Linked DNA regions of Homo sapiens: all the other regions are linked to region 1. The links are contacts of gene promoters, found by promoter capture Hi-C in human tissues and cell types (Jung and others, 2019). All regions are on one chromosome and are shown on one strand. The core of a region is centred on a gene start or on the middle of the fragment in contact, and the rest is flanking DNA. Distances in the headings are between cores, read along the strand shown. Region 1 holds the start of BEND3 (BEN domain containing 3). Region 2 overlaps PDSS2 (decaprenyl diphosphate synthase subunit 2). Region 3 overlaps PDSS2 (decaprenyl diphosphate synthase subunit 2).

Region 1 (4,114 bases), core at 687-3,186:
CTATATCAGTTCAATTATTGTATTTGACAGAAATCTTTTGTTTCAAGCAATATGAACAGAGAAATGTTAATTTCTATCTCTATTGTCTTATTATTTAATTTCTCCTTAAAAACCTGAGTTGTCACTGTGAAAGATTGGTTAAATATATATCCCCTCACTACACACGTTTCATCTAGTCCTCTTTCCAAAAATTTAACAAGGTCGTTTTACATTCTTAAAGCACCACAGCAAAGTGATTTAAATGCAAAATGTGCTTAAGTGCTACTTAACTATTCCTAACTCTTCTACTGGGAAATCCTAGAAAACTGAACTAATGAAATGCAACTTCTACTTTAAAAATTCTAATTATAACTGTCACATTAAATTGAAGGTGAGAATAAAACTGGTGTATCTGTTAACTAAGTCAAGCGATGTACTGTGTCGTACGTGTTATTTAATGTGCAAGTGTAAAAGTCAAGTTCTCTGCAGAAATCGAAGTGCCTCCCCTCAGTCTTCTGCGAATGTATAAATTAACCATTCTCCCCCAAGCAGTCCTCCTCCCTTCCTCCCTCCGCCCTATTTTAAATGTAGATAGGGCGACCTAAGTCTTTTGAATTTGAAGGGCTGCTATCTCGGCCCCATTCTTTTCATCATCCTGTTTTCAATGACACTGAGCACGTATAGATTCTTCTATAAAAGCACCCCCTGGATGCAGGGCTTGGTTCTTCAGGCTGCTTGCTTAATTTTGCATAGCAATTAGTACTGACTTCACTAAACCAGTAATCCAAATACAGCTCGAGAATGTTCCACGTAGTTCCTCAAACTTAACCCTGTGCCTTTTGATTTCAAGCCCGAAGGGGGGGAACTTGCATAATTACTAAATTCCCAATTGGAGTGGTCTGAAGGAGGGTACGGTAAACCCAAACTATACGTTAATTCAAACCCTCGCCGCGACTGGGCAGCAAGGAGCCAACATATGCCTTCTTTTAAAAATCTATTCTACCTATTCACTGACCGCGCAGGGCCGTGCCACATGGTCCTCCCTTGCAGCCAGTCAGCTGTGAGCAGCAGATGGGATCATTTGCATTTTTCTTTTTATACTTTCTTTGATCGGCAAATTAAAGGATTTTTCTTAAATTTACATTCTCATTGTTTGCCTAAAATACAAACGTGGCTAAACTGTTGAATTGGGCTTCCCTGACTCTCACCCAGCACCTCCCCCTCCCCCTACCCAGCCACTGAGACTTGAGAAAATACCCGAGGGGTAGATTTCGTATTTATCAACTGGGAATCTACAGTCCAAGAGTTAGGAGTAGACAGAATCAGCCTTTATTGAGTTGGTGACTCGTGTTTTTCTATTTTAGGCGCTCGGCGCAGACAGCCCGTGGGTTTGTGTTTGTGGGGTGTGTGTCTGTGAGCGCGGGCGCTTCCGAAGCTCTCGCTCCGCAGCCTCACACCCCAGAACTTCGGGTTGCAAGAGCAGATTTTAGCTCTGAGGCTCACAACAGAGGGCGGCCACCGTGCAGGGGGAGTGGCCAGAGCCAGCTTTTCCCAGCGCCAGGGTCGCTCTCCCGGGTCCCGCCGGACTCCATGCCGCCCCGCGGGGCCGCAGGAGCCACCCGGGCCCTCGCGCCCCAAGGTCTTTGTGCCGGTGGCGGCGCGGGAAGACCGGCCCCGGGGGCCTGGGCTGCGGCCCAAAGGCCAAAAATGCGGGAGAGGCGTGGGCGCGAGGCGGGACAAGCTCCGCACAGTCGCCGTCCCGCAAGGGGCAAAAAAGTAGAAAAAGCCGTTTGGGGCCAAACTCTCGGGTCTGAGAAACCACGTTTCCGAGGACGAACTCGCGGTGGGAGGACACATGGGGTACAGGGGACATTGTTCGCGGCGCCTGCCCGGCGCGCCGTGGGTGCGCGGCCGCCGCCCCCGCCCCGGGCAGCCAGCGCGGGCCCACGTGGAGCCACTGCGCTGGCCGAGCGCGCCGGGCCGCCTGGGTCCCGGGAGTGCGCGCCCGAGCTCCCCGCCGCGGCCGTTCACGCCCGAGCGCCGCCGCCGCCGGTCCCGCGTGTGCCCCGCTGAGGGGGAGGGGCGGGCCGGGGGTGGGGGCGGAGGGGTTGTGGTTCCACTGCAGCGGGGGCTCCTGTGTCCTTGTGCGGAAATGACACACGGAGTCCCGTCACGTCACGCGAGAGCGCAGCGCACGGACACACACAAAGAGAGGGGAAAATACACGGCGCTCGCCCGCCCGCCGCCCCCAGCGCCTCCCCGGGCCGCCCTGGCCAGGCCCTCCGCGCGCGGCCCCCACTCCCCGGCCCCGCGCCCTCCCCCCCACGTGGCGCCCAAACTCGGCGCGGGCCCGCCCGGCAAAGTACAGAACTCGCGTCCCAGGTAAGTGCGGGGCGGATCAAGCCGGCCGCGCGGCGGCGGCAGCGTTGGCGGCTCCGGGGCGAGCGGCCGGTAGAGTGGCTGCAACATCCATGCCGGGGTGGGGGCGGGAGCAGGGGAGGGGACGCGGAGGGGGGCTGCTCCGAGCGCGCCCGCCGGTAGTAGCGCCCACCCCCGCGCGGGCCGAGCGACCGGAGCGGGCGCCGGGCGCCCACGGGCTCGCCGCGCCCATTGTGCTGCGCGCCCCTTTGTGCCCGCTCGGAACGCGGCGGCTCCATGGCGTTCTGGGGAGCACGCGCGCCGCGCGGGGGCGGGGGGTTCGCGCGGTGGAACCGTCCGCGCCGCCGCCGCCGCCCGCCCCACTCGCGCCGCGCGCCGGCCCCGCACCCCCGCCGGGCGCCGCGATGGAGCGGCCGGGGCGGCCGGAAGGCTCTGCCGTACTCGCGGCGGCTTGGCGCTCGCGCTCGGCGGGGCTTTGGCGGGGCACTGCTCGGCGTGTGGAAGGGGGTGTCGGAGCGGGAGCAGGGGGCGGGGACTGGAGGGAGATGCCGGGCGGCGAGCGGGAGGCCGGGGGAGCAGCCGCTCGGAGGAACGAAGCCTCCGGAGGCTGCAAATGGAGCGAGGCCGGCCCGCGGCGGCGGCGGCCGGGAGCGGAGAGGGATGGGCCCCGCCGCCAGGGGGCGCAGCGCTCCCTTCCCGGCCGTTCCACGGCGGTTCGCGGTTCCCGCTGCCCAGGAGCTGGAGGCGGGCCCGGCGCCTTGGGTGTGCACCCGGGCTGGCGCGAGGCCTGGCCGGCCGGCCGCAAAGCTGAAGCCTGGGGCGCTCGCCGCTCCTCGTGAGCGCTCCTTTCCTTCTCTATGATAAACGTGATTTCCCACGCATGCTTTGCCCTTGCCTCATCCGTGAGCTGTGCACCACCGATTTGGAGGCCCTTGTGTGCTTGTTTACCTACGTCTCCCTATGTAGCTATTTTAAACAAGGTGTTTTTACAGAGATAAAAGTTTTATTGATTGCTCAGGTGGTCTTTCTGGAAGAATTCTGCACGTAAACGCTAACTCGACAAGAGTGCCGGGAGGAACAAGGTTACTCACTAGAGTTGGAAATGTGCAGTTCATCTCCTTAAAGTAACTTTTGAATGGTTGAATACAAATAGTAAACATGCCACAGGGCAGCGTGGCATAGTGCCAGAAAGCTACGGTTGCAGGAAACTGAGGTAAGGAACTGAGTCCTTCAGGTAGCCAGGTATATAAACGGCTGGGATGGAGGACTTTCTCTTGTTACCCGCTCCCCACTTCCACCCTTGCAGTCCGTTTTTCTCTCTTTTTTTTTTAAACCATTCATCCCTAGATATTGGCTTTATACTACCATACAAGAGCCTGTCAAGCTTTCCTCGGTACTGGGACTTGGGCAAGATTTTTTATCTCCCTCACAGTTTCACATCCCCAGCCTCTAACCCGGTGTCTCATAACTTAGTAGGCGTTCAGTGCGTATTTCCTAAATGAATGGAGAGAGCCTCTTGGATTCTAGAGGAAAGATGGAGCCAGAGCGCCAGTTGCTGCTGCTGGGTTAGCTGGTGTCTGTGTGGCCCTTGAAATCTGTCACATCAACCTCCTGTCATGGAACATGAGTTTTTTTTTTGTTTTTTTTTTTTTTTTGAGACGGAGTCTCGCTCTGTCACCCGGGCTGGAGTGCAGTGGCTTGATCTCTGCTCACTGCAACGTCTGCCTCCCGGGTTCAAGCGATTTTCCTGCCTCAG
Region 2 (4,114 bases), core at 468-2,967, 160 kb before region 1:
TGAGAATTGCTTGAACCTGGGAGGCAGAGGTTGCAGTGAGCCGAGATCACGTTACTGCACTCCAGCCTGGGTGACAGAGCAAGACTCCATCTCAAAAAAAAGAGTTAGCATGAGAAATATTCAAGAGTACTAAAATATATGTACATAAATCGGCATGAAGACTTTTATTTAAGATAATTTTTTAAAAATCCAGTGCATTGAAAGTTTAATAGATTGCTTTGGGTAGCTAAAATAGGAATAAGATCACCAGAAGAAATTTTTCTCAAATTTTTTCATACTGTCAATGCTTCTCTGACATATACTAAATTGTACTCTTACAAAATATGATCCAGAGTTACTTATCTGGTGATAAAATCTTAGAATCTGAGAGCACAGTACTAGAGAGTGAAATTACAGGATAGATTTAAAGACGACCAGTCATTTCACTCCTATTTCCTATAGAAAAATAGGTACCAATAATAGTAATCATTTTTTTAAATCTTTTTAACTATTAACTGCCAGTTTAGATAACTCTTTTTTTAAAAAAATCCCTGAATCTTATAATTTGGGGACTGGAAGGGATGTGTTGCTCCAGTCCCCCTCCTTTCAGGGACAAGAAGACCACGGGTCTGATTTAAGGGATTTGCCCATGAATTGTCTTATGTAATAAGCAGAAGTAGAACTGTTATCCAGATTCCTGATTAGGCTAAAACTATTGATTTCATCCTGGTGAATTCAAACAACTTGACCTTCCCCAGTTACTGTAAACAAAAAGAATTAAGCCTGTTCTTAATATACTTTTTTCCTAGCAACATTCCCTTCCCTGTTGCTTCAAAACTAGGGATAAAAATTGGACAAATTTGTGGCATATATCAGTGATGGTAACATTGATAACTTTGGCTTATTCCCCCTCCCCAACGATCTACTATTCCTTAGGTAAATAAACATTTATTTTTATTTTTATTTTTATTTTGAGACAGAGTTTCACTCTGTTGCCCAGGCTGGAGTGCAGTGGTGTGATCTCGGCTCACTGCAACCTCCGCCTCCCGGGTTGAAGCGATTCTCCTGCCTCAGTCTCCAAATAGCTGGGATTACAGACATGCGCCACCATGTCCAGCCAATTTTTGTATTTTTAGTAGAGATGGGGTTTCACCATGTTGGCCAGGCTGCTCTTGAACTCCCGACCTCAAGTGGTCCACCTGCCTCAGCCTCCCAAAGTGCTGGGATTACAGGCGTGAGCCCAGCTAGATGTTTTAAATTGTCATTTGTTACTATGACAAGGTGGCTCTGAGTTCCAGCTTTGCCTTGTATAAACTCAGTGTTCTTGATCAAGTATTTAACCTCTGCAGACCTCTGTAATTAGAATCACAAGTAGATAATATAAATGAAAGGTTTTTTTAAATGGCAGACCCTGTAAAAATGATGGGCTTTCACTTTTATTATTGCATACCATTGTTTTTGTTGTTTCTGGTCATGTGGCATTTAAAAGTTTCTATTTATTTAATGAATGCTGTTTTATGACTATAGATGTCAAAATCACTCATTTTCATCCTTTGAGTAATTCAAAACACCACAACTTTTTGCTTACCTGGTTATTACTTTCTTTCATAAACTGAACTGCATGAAAAACTTGTCCAAATGCTTAACGCTTTTTACTTTTATACTTGCCCATAATCTCATTATGTGATTTTTGTGAAATGTGATAATGCGGACTTTTTTCAGTGAATGGTTTTGTAAACTAGAAATCATTCGCAGGATAGTAATAAAATACAATTTTATTCCTTTCTTTTAGTCACTTTTTAAACGGTAATTTTAAATGTTCTACTTTAAAAAAATGTCTTCTGTTAACTTTTCAACTGTCTTATAAGTCTCCATTCTTAGTGATTTTCTTTGGGATATAATGAGATTTTAATCTAAACCATGAATTTACTCTTAGATACTATTTGACTCACTGGTTCATTTCCTTTCTCTACTCCCCAAATTTGTAATCAAGTACAATATGTCTACTGGGTCATCTTTACATATTCTCTTAATTTTTTTAACAAAGGAAATCAATTAGACATGAGATTTTCCTTGGCATTTGATAATGCCAATTTGTTCTTTTAATTGTATCTTTATGTGATTATTATAGATGTTAAACCATTCTGTTTTTTTTAAGAGGAGTCTCATATATTATTTGATGATTTTATATTTATTTATTTATTTATTTATTTTATTTATTCATTTATTTTTGAGACAGAGTCTTGCTCTGTCATCCAGGCTAGAGTGCAGTGGTGCAATCTCAGCTAACTGCAACCTCTGCCTTCCGGGTTCAAGTGATTCTCCTTGCCTCTGCCTCCCAAGTAGCTCCCAAAAATTAGTCAGGCACCCGCCAACACGCCTGGCTAATTTTTGTATTTTTAGTAGAGACGGGGTTTCACCATGTTGGCCAGGTTGGTTTCGAACTCCTTACCTCAGGTGATCCACCCGCCTTGGCCTCCCATAGTGCAGGGATTACAGGCCTGAGCCACCGCGCCTGGCCTGATTATTCTATATTTATTTCTCTCCATGTCTAAGGCGGTGTCCTAGGTCAAGCCCTTTTGTTGCATCTTCCTTGGACCTTTGTAATAGCTCCCCCACCCCATATCCCTACTTTCCCTACATACTTTTTAAGATTTTTCTATGTATCACCTTTGGAATCTTCTTCCTAAATTATTAAAAAATATATATCATCCTTTCATCTCAAAATATTGCATGTGTAAAATATAGACCATTTCACCTGCTATAACCAAGCTCCAAAATTCTTATCTCTCACTTATCCACACAGTCCCTTTACTGTAGCCAAACTGATCTTTTCAACCTTTGGTCACGTTTTCTACTCTTGCCTTCTCTGTGTCATGATGTGTAGTCTTTCTTATTCTGGGGTTCCCAAGCCCTACTCTTGTTTTGTCCTTTTTCTCCAGCTATGGAAATCTTACTTGCCTTTCCAGGCCCCGCTCAAATTTAGCTTCTTCAAGGAAACTTTTTTAAAGCTTTTGTGACACAGATGAGGTCTACAGAAAAAAAGGAAAGATAGAAGCTTTCAATGGGCACATGTGGAAGGCAGCCTAATCTAGTAGAAATAGATTGGGGATTGGAGTCTCTGTTAGTTATCTATTGTGTAACAAACTACTCCAAACCTTGGTGGCTTAAAACAATAACCAACTTATTTCTCATAATTCTGTTGTTTGGCTGGACTGTTCCTTTGCTGGTTTCTCCTGTATTTATTTATGTGTCTGTGTTTACCTGGTAAATGTGCAGGGGGCTGGGCTTGACTGGGACAGCTGGACCTTTCTCCATGTTGCCTTTCATTCTCTAAGAGGCTAGATTAGGTTTCTTAACTTGTAGTCTCAGGTTAGCATTCAAAGAGTGTAAGCCCCAATGCAAAAACATTTATCAAGCCTGTTTGTCCCTCATTTGCCGATGTCCCATTGACCAAACAAGTCATATGGTCAAACTCAGCATCAATCAAGGAGATCATACATGGCTTGGATATCAGAGGGTGTGACTGATAAGTGTAACTTGGTGTAACACTCTGCCACAGTTTGCCCTCTGGCCCCAATATTTCACATTCCTTCCATATGCAAAACAGACCACCTCCCAAGACCCCAGTCTCATCCATTTTATGACATCAAGCTCAGAGTCCCTGATCTCATGATTTCTGTTAGGTCTCGATATGGATGTGGCTCCATGGGTGCAGCCCCTCTTCAGTCAGGGACCTAGGAACTAAAAGGACAAGTTATCCACCCTCCCCCCAACCACACACCACCGTCTATCCAACATGCAACAGTGAATCAGAAAGAAGATAACCACAGTTGTCACTTCCATTAAAAAGAGGGAGAAATGGGAGGTACATAGCAGTCACTAGTCTGTAGCAATTCTGAAATCCAGCTGGGCATATATCTGGGCCACCTACTGTATCTTGGAGCAAGGAATGTTTCTTGATTAGGGCTCAGTTCTATTCCCTGGAAATGGTTCTCGAATCCACTCTTCTCCATTGTTCTTGGCTCTACCTTCTGAGCTTCCTTTTCTTTTCTTTTCTTTTCTTTCCTTTTTTTTGAGATAGGGTCTCACTCTGTGCTAGGCTAGAGTGCAATAGTGCAGTCAGTTCACTATA
Region 3 (4,114 bases), core at 817-3,316, 140 kb before region 1:
AAGTCAAGAAGGTGAGTGGCAATTTTTCTGAAATAATAAGTAAAAGGAGAAAGAATAGAAAACTGGAGGATGAAGATTGAAGAGGATGTATATACACTTTAGAGATTACGTGAGGTGAAATTAACCGAGTTGTGAACAGTGTGTTAGGCTGTTCTTGCATTGCGATAAAGAAATACCTGAGGCAGGCCAGGCACAGTGGCTCACACCTGTAATCCCAGCACTTTGGGAGGCCGCGCGGGCAGATCACGAGGTCAGGAGATCGAGGCCATCCTGGCTAACACAGTGAAACCCCGTCTCTACAAAAATGCAAAAAAATTAGCCGGGCGTGGTGGCGGGCGCCTGTAGTCCCAGCTACTCAGGAGGCTGAGGCGGGAGAATGGCGTGAACCAGGGAGGCGGAGCTTGGAGTGAGCCAAGATCGCACCACTGCACTCCAGCCTGGGCAACAGAGCCAGACTCCATCTCAAAAAAAAAAAAAAAAAAAGAAAAGAAAGAAAAGAAATACCTGAGACGGGCCAGGCACGGTGGCTCACACTTGTAATTCTAGCACATTGGGAGGCCCAGGCAGGTTGATCACCTGAGGTCAGGAGTTCGAGACCAGCCTGGCCAACATGCCAAAACCCCATCTCTACTAAAAATACAAAAAATTAGCCGGGCATGGTGGCGGGCACCTATAATCCCAGCTACTCGGGAGGCGGAGGCAGGAGAATTGCTTGAACCCAAAAGCGGAGGTTGCAGTGAACTGAGATTGCGCCACTGCATTCCAGCCTAGGGGAAAGAGTGAAACTCCATCTCAAAAAAAAAAAAAAAAAAGAAAGAAAAGAAATACCTGAGACTGGGTAATTTTGTAAAGAAAAGAGGTTTAATTGGCTTATGGTTCTTCAGGCTTTACAGGAAGCATGGTGCTTGCACCTGCTCAGCTTCTAGGAAGGCCTTAGGAAGCTTACAATCATGGCAGAAGGCAAAGTGGGAGCAGGGACGTCACATGGTGAAAGCAGGAGCAACGGGAAGGAGGTGCCACACACTTTTAAACTACCAGATCTCCCAAGACCTCACTCACTATTGTGAAGACAGCACCAAGCCATAAGGGATCTGCCCCCATGATCCAAACACATCCCACCAGCCCCACCTCCTGCATTGGGGTTTACAATTCAACATGAGATTTGGGAAGGGACAGAAAGAGACACAGTATACAAGCCTGCTGGAGTGAAGAAAGGATAGATGGAGAAGAGATAGGCAGCTGCAGATGCGAAGGCAGGAATCAGCTGTCTATCCACCCAGTACTTAGTAAACTCCTAACTCAGAAAGTTCCTCAGGTGAGACCATTAGAAAGGGAAAAGAAGAGTACTGAATCACTCAAACTTGAAAATAGATTTTTTTTCTCGCTCTGGCTTTGGAGATCTAGCAAATGTCCATGAAAATGGAGGGGGGGCCAGGCGCGATGGCTCAAGCCTGTAATCCCAGCACTTTGGGTGTCTGAGGTGGGCAGATCACAAGGTCAGGAGATCGAGACCATCCTGGCTAACACGGTGAAACCCCATCTCTACTAAAAATACAAAAATTAGCCGGGCATAGTGGCGGGCGCCTGTAGTCCCAGCTACTCGGGAGGCTGAGGCAGGAGAATGGCTTGAACACGGGAGGTGGAGCTTGCAGTGAGCCGAGATTGCGCCACTGCACTCCAGCCTGGGCGTCAGAGCCAGACTCCGTCTCAAAAAAAAAAAAAAAAAAAAAAATGAAGGGGGAAGACTGATTTAATTAATTTTACTTCTGGAAGGTAGGAAATGGGATTTACAAAGATCAAGGTTGCTAAATGTATTATATATAATATTGCCATAGTCAATATATTTCTATTTCTCATGGCCAACCATGATGTGAGGTTCAACTGAATTTGAATACCATAAGCAAAAGAAAATTTAAGCTCATCCAAGAGTCTATGTGACTACTTTCCTCATTGATAGCCACATATAGCTCAGTCATGTTAATGTAATTTTGGTTTTAGCATTTCCATCATTTTCTTAAATTCTTAAAGTTGTAAATACGCAACAAAAAATTTACTTAGTCTAAGCCAAAGTTGGTTTATAGGGTCTTAGCCCAGGAGCAAATTTTATTTATTTAGCCATAGTGATTGGGAAGAGCCCTTTTCTGGCAGCTAATGACCTACTGGAGGACTTATGTGCCTAAGGCAAAGCTGAAGGCCATTAGCCCAACAGGTCATTAACTGACAAATGCCTGACCCTGAGGTCATTTCTGATATTGTAAACTGTGAAAACTTTAAAGTGGGTTTGTTGGAAAGTATGGCTGTGCCAAGCAAGTTTCTTTTTAAGCATTCTGGAAATTTCATTAAATTGTTTGTTGTCATTCCTATGGCTTAATTGTCATTGTTCTGGGACCATTTTCAGGGTGTAAAGTCAGGCAGAAATCTGGAAACACCAAAACTATATTGCAAATCAAGTCTTTGGTTTTTAAAGGATAGTTTCCCTGTTTAGAATATCAGAGTAACTGTTTACTAATAACAGTTTTAGCTACACTCTTGGGGATCACTTATATTTTCATAATGTGTTGAGCTACATAGCACTTATGTATTTTACATTCCTAGAGATGACATGTAAAGCTACAAAGAGAAGTGGAAAGAACCATAAAGTAGAAGTCTGTGGACCGAATTCCTAGCCTTGGCTTTTTTTCTCTTTCATTTTTTCTTTTTTCTATTTTTTTTTTTTGAGACAGAGTCTTGTTCTGTCGCCCAGGCTGGAATGCAGTGGTGCGATCTCAGCTCACTGCAACCTCCGCCTCCTGGGTTCAAGAGATTCTTCTGCCTCAGCCTCCCAAGTAGCGGGGATTACAAGCATGTGCCACCACGCCCGGCTAATTTTTTCCTTTTTTTTTGTATTTTTAGTAGAAGTGGGGTTTCACCATGTTGGCCAGGCTGGTCTTGAACTCCTGACCTCAGGTGATCCGCCCACCTTGGCCTCCCAAAATGCTGGGATTTCTGATGTGAGCCACCACGCCTGGCCTCATTTTTTCTTTTGTTTCTTTTTATCCCCCAATAAGCCATTTAACATTGAACTCTTCATTTTACCTCTCAGAATTCCAAATTCAGATCATTCATTCATCCATCTATTATTTCAGTCTATCTGATATCTTAATTCCCCATTTTTATCACTGAAATTAGAAACTTTATAGTTGTAGAAAATTTAATCATTAAAATTACCATCAAATATTTTAGAAATAACAATTTATATTTTTGAGGGCTTACTATACGGTAGGCACTGTTTTAAGTGCTTTATCTATATTAACCCATTTAATGTCTCCTGAGGTACAGGGAAAGGATAAGTAATTTCCCTCAAGGTAACACTGCTAATAAATGGTAGAGTTGCTGTCTAAATCCAGGCAATCTGACTGCAAAATCCTCATGCTTTACTAAAGTAGAAAACTGACAGACCAACAAAGAACCATGATACATTTTTGCCAACAATTTTGCAGTTATCAATCCTGGAATTTATGGTATCTTAAACGGTTATTAGTTTCTAAATATTGGAATACATATTTCAATACAAACATTGATAGGGGCTTCATGAAACTTTTTTTTTTTCTGAGACGGAGTCTCACTGTTGCCCAGGCTGGAGTGCAGTGGCACAATCTCAGCTCACTGCAACCTCCGCCTCCAAGGTTCAAGTGATTCTCCTGCCTCAGCCTCCCAAGTAGCTGGGATTATAGGCACCCACCACCACATCCAGCTAATTTTTGTATTTTTAGTAGAGATGGGGTTTTGCCATGTTGGCTATGGCTGGTCTTGAACTCCTGACCTCAGGTGATCTGCCTGCCTCGGCCTCCCAAAGTGCTGGGATTACAGGCGTGAGCCACTGTGCCCGGTGAAACATTTTAAATTAGCAACTTATAAGCAAAAGCAACTTTTTTTTTTTTTTTTTAGTTTTCTAAAAAAATAAAGGCAGCATCATGTCCATCTCTTAGATCCTTGCTGGTTCCAATATTCTATGGTTCCAAATGTTGTAGATGTTGTAGGAAAGAGTCTAAACTTGCATCTTATAACCAGATCCTGAAAATGGCATGACACATGAAGAAAAACAAAATGATTATAATCAAGGAAATTGTTAATA

What was found. The method cuts DNA at HindIII sites, captures the fragments that hold promoters and counts their contacts. A contact is called where the count stands out against the background at its distance.
Region 2: a fragment that was not itself captured here is called in contact with the fragment with the promoter of BEND3 in region 1 in 2 of the 25 tissues and cell types used here (bladder and heart left ventricle).
Region 3: a fragment that was not itself captured here is called in contact with the fragment with the promoter of BEND3 in region 1 in 1 of the 25 tissues and cell types used here (heart right ventricle).

The regions. Positions count from the first base shown.
Region 1 is chr6:107,113,337-107,117,450 of GRCh38, reverse strand. BEND3 (BEN domain containing 3) reads left to right here and starts at 1,936. Exons shown (of 4, transcript NM_001367314.1): 1 at 1,936-2,361. RefSeq lists enhancers at 1-686, 687-1,450 and silencers at 2,043-2,092, 2,133-2,182, 2,313-3,222. The HindIII fragment of the contact is 9,723 bases long and covers 1-4,114 here.
Region 2 is chr6:107,276,057-107,280,170 of GRCh38, reverse strand. The region is part of intron 2 of PDSS2 (decaprenyl diphosphate synthase subunit 2); the gene reads left to right. The region is part of intron 1 of LOC124901366 (a long non-coding RNA gene); the gene reads right to left. Among named protein-coding and RNA genes, the nearest start is that of BEND3, 160 kb to the right of the region's middle. The HindIII fragment of the contact is 4,222 bases long and covers 1-3,828 here.
Region 3 is chr6:107,258,277-107,262,390 of GRCh38, reverse strand. The region is part of intron 3 of PDSS2 (decaprenyl diphosphate synthase subunit 2); the gene reads left to right. Among named protein-coding and RNA genes, the nearest start is that of BEND3, 140 kb to the right of the region's middle. The HindIII fragment of the contact is 6,860 bases long and covers 1-4,114 here.